2 separate regions of the Homo sapiens genome follow, and region 2 is linked to region 1. Evidence: promoter capture Hi-C in human tissues and cell types (Jung and others, 2019). All regions are on one chromosome and are shown on one strand. Each heading gives the region's core, a stretch centred on a gene start or on the middle of the fragment in contact. The rest is flanking DNA. Distances are from core to core; before and after follow the strand shown. Region 1 holds the start of GSTA5 (glutathione S-transferase alpha 5). Region 2 has its middle 19 kb from the start of GSTA2.

Region 1 (4,984 bases), core at 1,936-4,435:
TTTTGTGTTGACTGAACAAAGCTCAACGGTAACCTCTGCCCCAGTCTTAGCCTGACCCTTGGAAACCTCATATTGAGAGGCGATATGTTAGTTATCAGCAGGAGTGTTGTGATAAAATATTATATAAGATAAAAATTCATTTCCTTTTGAAACATGATTCTCAATCAATGGCTAAGGGAGCTTAGTGTGGGGATTGGAATCATGACACTGTGAACTCTAGTCCATAACAATTAAACAACCGCGCCCCACACTTTTGTGTGAACTTCACTCTCCCTTTCTTTCTGCTGAATAATGCTATTTGCATTTCCCAAGTTAGGAAAGTACAACATCAAAATATCTAATCACAGAACAGGTAAGTTGATTCAGTATGATTTCAAAGAATTCTTTACTTTCCAAAGGCTAAACTATTGACTCCCACATTTTAAAATGTAGACATTTAAAAGATTTTGATGTCTATTTATGCAGCCAACAAACATATAAAAAAAGCTCATCATCACTGGTCATTAGAGAAATGCAAATCAAAATCACAATGAGATACCATCTCATGCCAGTTAGAATGGCGATCATTAAAAAGTCAGAAACAACAGATGCTGGAGAGGATGTGGAGAAATAGCAACACTTTTACACTGTTGGTGGGAGTGTAAATTAGTTCAACCATTGTGGAAGACAGTATGGCAATTCCTCAAGGATCTAGAACTAGAAATACTATTTGACCCAGCAATCCCATTACTGGGTATATACCCAAAGGATTATAAATCATTCTACCACAAAGACACATGCACATGTATGTTTACTGCGGCCCTGTTCACAATAGCAAAGACTTGGAACCAACCCAAATGCCCATCAATGATAGACTGGATAAAGAAAATGTGCCACATATACACCATGGAATACTATGCTGCCATAAAAAAGGATGAGTTCATGTCCTTTGCAGGGACATGGATGATGCTGGAAACCATCATTCTCAGTAAGCTATCACAAGAACAGAAAACAAAACACCACATGTTCTCACTCATAAGTGGGAGTTGACCAAGGAGAACACATGGTCACAGGGAGGGTAACATCACACACCGGGACCTATAGTGGGGTGGGGGCCTAGGGAAGGGATAGCATTAGGAGAAATACCTAATATAGATGACGGGTTGAAAGGTGCAGCAAACCAGCATGGCATGTGCATACCTATGTAACAAACCTGCATGTTTTGCACATGTACCCCAGAATTTAAAGTATAAAAAAAAGATTTTGATGTCTAAATTTAAGTCATACATACTTTTGTAGAAGTACATTAGTTGACGGCGGGTGCAGTGGCTCACGCCTGTAATTCCAGCACTTTGGAAGGCTGAGGCAAGTGGATCTCCTGAGGTCAGGTGTTTGAGACCAGCCTGGCCAACATGCTGAAGCCCTGTCTCTACAAAAAATACAAAATTAGCCAGGTGTGGTGGCATGTGCTGGTAATCCAAGCTACTTGGGAGGCTGAGGCAGGAGAATCACTTGAAACTGGGAGGCTAAAGTTGCATGAGCTGAGATTGCACCATAGCACTCTAGCCTGGGAAAAAAACAGTAAAACTCCATCTCAAAAAAAAAAAAAAAAGAAATACATTAGTTGTTAAAGGCAAGTATATTTTTCTTCTAAACTCAACAACCACAAAACTTTGCAAGAAGAATCTTAATGTTTAATCACAGAGCTGGGGGTTTGGAGAGAATATGCAACTGTTCCTAAGTCCTGGCACTGGAACTCCTGCTTTCAATGAGTCCTGTGTCCTTCCATTCACATTCATGATACAATTAGTTGCATCTGTCCTTGCAGCCATTGGTTTTCATTCTCTGATACTCTGCTATGTTCCACCTCCCAAACAGCCTGGGATAGAGCAAGGGCTATCAAACTTCACTGATGAGCCCAGTCAATTTCTCTCTAACCATTTACAACAAGCAGGTGAGCGTGCACACATGCAAACATCCATACACACAATATACAAATAACTGAAACTAACAACTCATGAAACATTACTTACCCTTCAACATGTCATGCTCACTGATATTTTTATTCTTTTCTATTTTATTTTAAAAAGTACTGGGGTTTCACAATCTACTGAAAGATTACCATGCATATTTGAGAAACATTAACATAGAAAATAAGACTCAGTCTTTAGTTTTTAATAGCAGTGAGTCTGCATCCCAGATCCACCACTTAATCTGGGTAAGTTACTTTAAAAACCTCAGTATCCTCAACTGTAAAATGAGAATAGCAACAGCCTTTCACCTTAGGTGATTTTTGTAGGACAAAATGAGAGAAGTTTAGAAGAATGGCCAGTGTATGACTGACGTTGAACAAATGCTAGCTCCTTCCATATCCTGCAAAGTTAATGCAGCAACATCTCTTTTGCCAGGTTATAAAACAAAATGCCCCCCACAGAGTTAAAATATAGAACACCAAAAGAAGCAAGGTATTAGCATTCTCTGTTGAAAGACTTTGGATCTTCTAGCTACAGTAAAACAAGTCTGAAGCCTAATTTCTGGTTTTGATCAAATGCAGTCTCACAGCCAGAGAGCTGAAGAGTGACTTAGCTCCCTGCCGGTCCTCCCTGTCAGTGACATCCTCTGGTTTCACAACCAGTTCATGGGTTCCCAGGGCCTTCACCCAGATGTCTTCCAGGCGTGACTTCATTTTAGTCCTTGGTGTAGATATTCATGTCCATCACCAACCAGAGTGTGACTGTGAACATTGTATTTCTCTGATGTTCGATTTCATTAACTAAAAATTGGAGAAAACAACCATTTAATGAGACTATAAGGAGGGTTAAAGATATAAAATATTGAAAGGGACTAGCATTGAGGAAGGATCATGAGGAAGTTTTCAATAAATATTAGTTCTTGAATTCTTCCCCTTCCATTAACTCCTGTACATGTATTATTACCACATACTCTCACCTCTTAGGCTGCCAAGAAAAGTCACAGGTAAACAATGAAGACTTGAGACTGGTTTGAGGGTGGCCACTGCTGGGTAACAATTTGAGCCAAGAAAACATTCCAGGAACTCCTTCAACCCAGTCATGAAGAAGGCAGGTTCTTCTTCAGCATTGTTTGTGGTTTTCAACCACACATCCTAAAGTACATTTTTGATTCTATCGTTTCAATTATTCATTCATTCATTCAGGCTTAGAGAAACCTCCAGGAGACTGCTATCATGGCAGAGAAGCCCAAGCTCCACTACTCCAATGCACGGGGCAGTATGGAGTCCATTCGGTGGCTCCTGGCTGCAGCTGGAGTAGAGGTAGGTTCTGAGTAAGGTCATCTTAAGTTGGATTTAAAATTGCGTTATCACATACTTTTCCCACAGAAACTATGCAATGATTACTTACTGAAGCATTGTGCCTTAAATAAAAATGGACTGTAATTAAGAAAAAGATGAATAGATTTGACCTAAAAATTGTTAAAATTTCTTCTTATCTAAGAGCATACATATTAAAATACAATTAAGAAACTAATCAAAAAGTGTAGAACTTAAGTGGATTAGAATTTAAACAAACTGTAAAAAATAATTTATGGCATTAGAAACTTGGATATTGACTGAATATTTGATGACATGAAATAATTATTGTTAATATTTCATGTGTGATAATGTACTATGGTTATCTTTAGAACAGTTTATGTGTTTTAGGAAAACACATTGAAGTATTTAAGGATTAATCATATGGATCTGGGATTTCTTTGGAATTATTACAAAAGGAGAAGTAGGTGGGCATAAATATAACTTCACATTGGTTTTGGTTGATAATTATTGATTCTAGGTGAGAAATATAAGGAGAATTTTTATGCTTTTCTGTTTATTTTTATTCATGTTCATAATTTCCACAACAAAAAAATGAAAATACGTAATATTTAAAAATGGCTGTAGTTAGAGGTAAAATGCAAACTATAAATGAGAGGTGTAAGGGAGTGGATTGTAACAAACTACCTATTAAAGATTGACTACATTCACAGCAATTATTTGTTGAGCACTTATTAATTCCAGGTTCTGTACTAGGTCATGGAGATAGACAGTGAACAAGACAGACACAGTCCCTGCCCTGGGGCGGCCTACATGTCTATGAGGATGCAGACAAGTAAACACGTGGTTAAAATGAGGCGTGGAGGCTTCTAGAACACCCAAGCATTCCCCAGTGTTACCAGGTCATCCTCCCAGTGTTTGAGTAGGAAATGCCTGGAGGTGTCTGTGGGACTCCGCTGAGTGCTGCCCTCTAGAGGTGTCACTGAGAAAAACACTTCCCAGTCCAGACCAGAGTCCTTCAGCGACTGCCTGAGGGTTTTCCTGGGAAGTGAGTCATGGACAAACTCAGGAGATCTTGTCCCTCGGGTGGCAGCAGAAAAGGGGGGTTTCAGGTGAGGTGGCGTCCTGTGAAGGGAACTTCTAGCGCGCCCCTTCAGCCTCACAGCGCCGTGTGGACCTGAGCCTCGGAACGGTACTTTGTGCGTTGCTTCACGAAGGCTTGGGACTTTAGCCTCACCCTTTCTCAGTTCTATGAAGAAATAAGCACATAAGAAATCCAAACACTATCATTCTAGGTTGTTTCCTTTGTACAAATGAATACCCTGTTTCACTGTCACGCAGACATCAGCTCTGCAGCTCAGGGATGTGTTCAGAGCCCGGGTAGGAAGAGTTCAGCAGGAGGGAGGGAGGGGCAAGGCTGGGAGGAACCCAGGTTCCCAGGTCTCCATCCAGCCTGACTGAAGGCGGGGGCAGGGCTGACTGCAGACCTTGCTCAGGCTTCTGGGGTCTCAGCGCCCTAAGGCTGATGATCACAACCCAGTCCTCACATCCCACTTGCCAACCCCACCCCACCTTGTCTACCCTCCTTCCTGGACCACCCACCGTTCCTTAGGTTTGTCCTGAACTGGATGCCTTATTAATTGCTGGCACACACCCCCATGACCTCTAGATCCTGGTCCTGTGTGATCATAGATCCACAACAAATTCTGTTCCATG
Region 2 (4,672 bases), core at 1,370-3,869, 97 kb after region 1:
ATCCAAGTCACGAAAAGTGAGTTTCTTCAAAAAGCCAGTTTCTACTGACTTATAAAGAGAGCAAAATCTGCTGAAATTTTTGGTTAAACTTTTATTGCCAACCTTGAAAAGGAACATATTAACCAGTTACCTTGTGATAAGAGGATGACTTGCCATTTTTCTTAGAATCTAGTAGGCAGTCCTGTGGCCCTGAAACATGTGGGAGTGGCTGTTTTTAACTTGAATCTATTCCTTTCAATGGGAGGGAGCTACTGAAATGAACGTGTAGGTTATCAACCACATTAGGACCTCAAATTAAGTTGTTGAGCCACGAGGGCGATAACCTTTAACAAAGTAAGTACTGATCTTATAAATCTTTCTACACTGCCTCACACCATCTCATCTAGGTCACCAGAAAAATATTTTTAAATGTGTCCTTAGTACAATAAAAAAAAACTGCTTAATACTCACATCAATGCCTTCTTTGTGTGCTTGGATGACAGTTTGAGTTGTGCATTCAGCTGCTTTTGGATATATTGTGTCAACTTAATAAACAGAAAGAGACTCTTTATATGGGAACAAAGTTTTGTAATGGGTACGTGTGTACCATAGTAAACCATGTATGTCCTTAGGGAGATAAAGGAAGAAAAAGATTTTTAAAGCAAAAGAATAAGAAGGATTAAGTAAATGTTTTGAAATACTTATCATTCACTGCAAACATCAATAACAAGGGTGACACCAGGCCAAGTTTGAACAGGGAGTTGCTGGACAGATGCCTTTTCAGGAGTATTTTTTGTAAAAGGTTTTGATGACCTTTGTGAAAAGTTGTGTCACAACTGATTTTCCTATTTATATTAAATACCTGCATCCACTCTGAGCTTCTGATCAAATTGAGACAGCCTTGTTGCTGGCTGCCATTCCAACCAATGTCTCTTGTCTCAGGACAAGGTGTAATTTACTCCAAGGTTTAAGTTACTGGATGTAGATCAATAACAAAGAATAGTTTCATCAATATTAGATTGATTTAGATTTTTTTAAAGGATGACATGCTGAAATAGCAGCTATCTCTCAAACTTCTAATAATTAGTTATATTTAATGAGCACTTACTAGAGACCTGCTACTTTTCTAAGTGCTTTGTATGACTTTGCAATTTAGTCTTCATACCAACCTACCAATCTGTACCATAGGTACCACAAGTATATCCATTTCATAGATTAGAATACTCAGACACAGAGAGATTCAGTAATGTGTCCAAAGTCAAGAAGCCAATATATGAAAATGGTGATATTGAACCCACAAAACCGGTTCAGAAACCAGAGATTTTGGTTAAAAATAATGTTAGTGTGGGGACTCTAATTCCTTTCTTAAATTGAGATTCTACCCTATGGTGTCTCATTTACTCCAGAAAAAGGAAATTATAGTTGCAAGAGTTAAAGCTTTGCAATAGCTATGACCTATTTCACACTTAGCAAGATTCCTAAAAAGTGGGGTGAGGTAAATTACAGAAGAGGCCTCTTGGTGGCAGAATCTTTGATGGCCATTAGCCCATGGCATACCCCATGCTAGGGACACACAAGGTTGTGGTCTGATCTCACTTGGAGACACAGGCTTTCCTAAGATATGACAACACCATAAGTAGAAGAACTGCTCAGTGCCATCTCTCCATTGACATCCCCTCTCAAAACATGACTTAATCATAGATAGTCATGAGATCGGGGTGGAGATGCAGTGAACTGGAAGACGGAGAAGCTATGTGCTGTGACCCATGCCATTCCCCCAATGAATCTAGTCTAAATTTACAAATGGCCACAACCAGCCCCTCTGTGTGCACTGCCAAACTCAGAAATCTTATATTCTCCAAATGATGCACCAGATAGGGGCTATTCAAAGTCAGAAGTTTATAATGCTATGGAATGAACTAACGAAAACTCATTTACTGTTTCTGTCTCCAGTTTGACCAGAAATTTCTAGAATCTGCAGAAGAATTGGACAAGTTAAGAAATGGTAAGATGAAGTCTCTAAGTACCTCTGATGTGGGTATCTAATAGAAGGCACACAAGGAATTTTGAACAGCAGGCAATGCCCATGTGTGTGTGGGGTGGTATTTGGGCAAGGTGGAGAGGGAGAAAGTGGTTAAAATGGAAGGGATGTGGCTCCTTGATCAGGTCTGGCAACTCTCTCCAGGCTAAAAGAACTAGACTTCTCAGAGTATTTGCTAGAGGAACCATCCCCAGCGCCCTGAGAATGCCCTATCCTTATTTTCATGCTTTGGGCACCATGAATGAGCTGTGTTGATCAGCTCAGGATCCCATACAGGCCTCCCCATCCAAGGATACTCAAGGACATAGATTAGATGAAAGGAGGAGAAATAGATGTGACCATTGTCTTGAGTCTTTGTTCTTTCATGGGGGGTGTGAAAAGGTAATATTGTAGCAGTATTGCAGGCTTTGAAGAGCACAGAAAGGGACCCTTACATAAAAACCTCTCAGAACCTGCCTTAAATGTCACAAATATGAGGCTTATTCTGGGAACTTCTCATTCTAAATGGCATTGTGTTGGCAGTCCTGTTGTAACCTATCCCAACATCTTCCTGAAGTATCCATGAACATAAATGAACACAAAAAAAGACAAGAGTTCTACTATGTATCTGGAGGAGAAATAAATAACAAAAATGAAACAACATGATAAAAAGTAAAAGGAAGCTGATTAACAAAAAGAAGGACTACAGGAAGCTTTTTAAAAACGCACTTTCAGGTGAAATCTTACCAGGCAATAATTTCTTTTTCATGTACAAATTTAGTCATTTTCACAACCATTTTTTTCATCCTGAAAGAGTGGGATTCATAGTCATTTCACTCTCCTTTTTTTTCCTTCTTTGTAAAGATGGGAGTTTGATGTTCCAGCTAGTGTCAATGGTTGAGATTGACAGGATGAAGCTGTGCAGACCAGAGCCATTCTCAACTACATTGCCAGCAAATACAACCTTTATGGGAAAGACACAAAGGAGAGAGCCCTGTATGGTATAGTTTCTATTCTTCCATCAACAGATTTAACACAGGAGTGATTTAGGTCCTTCCTTGAGTGGGTGGGACATGGTAGGGGCCTTCAGCATGTACGCTAGGGTCTAGCATTGCAGAGACTCATGGAGATGAGGGAACAGTGAACATGGGGTGGGCTCAGGCGAGGGGGAGTCTAGAAGAGGATCCAGTCCATGGATCCAGCACCCTGACAGAGGTTTCCAAACACGGATGAACCATGAACTCAGGAGGATGGGGAATCATGATTCCAGGTGCTCAGGCCTTCAGAGGCTGGACTGGAGCCAACAGCTTAGGACAAGGCATAGAACGTTTGAGAGTCTGTAGGTGAAGGCCTGGGGAGAAAAGGTTACAAAGGAGCTGAATCTCAGGTTCCAGTAAATCCAAGAATGATGACCAGGGACCTAAGTTACCAGCCAATTATATGGACTGCAACACCTGAGCAGGGCTAGCAGAGGCTGGCACCAAGGATGCTGGGGTTATCTTGACACATGGTTACAAGGCTGAAACAGCCAGATTGATTCAATACCAGCAAAGCCAAAGGGTTTCCTCACTATTGTGATAAAACTACATGATTCCAAATAAATCCTGAATGGAACTTTTGGCAGCCCCTCCAAAATTTTCCTGCAGTATTACCAATGACCAAGCAATTCCTCAACTAGATATATTCCCAAAAGAATAAAAAATACAACCACACTAAATATTGAAGATAAATGTACAATGCAAATAACAATATTCATAGTATTCAAAAAGTGGAAACAAGGCAAATATCCATCAATCAATAAATGGAGGGGCAAAATGTGCTTTAGCCATGTGATGGAACGATATTGTCATGAAACAGAATGAAGTACTGATGCATGCTACAAGATGGTTAAACCATAAAGACATGTTACATAAAAGAAACAAGACACAGAAAGCCACATATTATAGGATTCTTTTTGTATGAAACGTCCAGAATATGCAAATCCATAGAGGCAGAAAGTAGATTAGTGTTGCCTGGGGCTAAAGGAGTGGGGCTTGGAGTAAAATGAAGAATACTGCTGATGGTACAGATGTCCTTATCGGGGTCATAAAAAATATTCTGGAATTAGAATGTGATGATTTTTGCAGAGTTCTGTGAATGTGCTAAAAAGCACTGAATGTGGCTGTATGTCAATAAGCTGTTGTTTTAAAAAGTATTGTGAAACCTGAGTTTGACACAAAAGAAAAAGTTTGCACTGGTTGTAACTGTATAAATAATTTCACCAAGGAAGGGGATCTTTTAGGTGGAGTCTCAGGTAAGGCACACGTGGCTAGAGTCGGACAACAGCACATGGAGAGGGCTGTAGAATTATGTTTCATGGGAGTAACTGGAAAAACTGCTAATATTGGGCATAGAAGTGGGCCTGGGAGATGTAAAATGATGAGACAGAACAAGGAACATGACTGAGATGGCTGTGCCAGGGACTCTCTTGGGATTACTTAGGAGGCAGGACTTTGGCAATTTGACTCACACTAAGTTCACACACAGAACAAACCACAATAGAGATGGTCAGTCCTGGCACAGCACCAGTGGGTACTGGCAGTGATTCCACAAGTTTCTGTCATGACTGTGACCACCGATGCTCTTTTTACCTGTATTAGGTCATGTGTGTAACAAAATTTAGAGATCTATCTA

What was found. The method cuts DNA at HindIII sites, captures the fragments that hold promoters and counts their contacts. A contact is called where the count stands out against the background at its distance.
Region 2: a contact is called between a fragment that was not itself captured here and the fragment with the promoter of GSTA5 in region 1, in 2 of the 25 tissues and cell types used here (liver and thymus).

Annotation. Positions count from the first base shown.
Region 1 is chr6:52,839,014-52,843,997 of GRCh38, reverse strand. GSTA5 (glutathione S-transferase alpha 5) reads left to right here and starts at 3,185. Exons shown (of 6, transcript NM_153699.3): 1 at 3,185-3,271. The coding sequence starts at 3,185. RefSeq lists an enhancer at 157-326. The HindIII fragment of the contact is 18,057 bases long and covers 1-4,984 here.
Region 2 is chr6:52,741,917-52,746,588 of GRCh38, reverse strand. It overlaps the pseudogene GSTA7P. Among named protein-coding and RNA genes, the nearest start is that of GSTA2, 19 kb to the left of the region's middle. The HindIII fragment of the contact is 4,440 bases long and covers 400-4,672 here.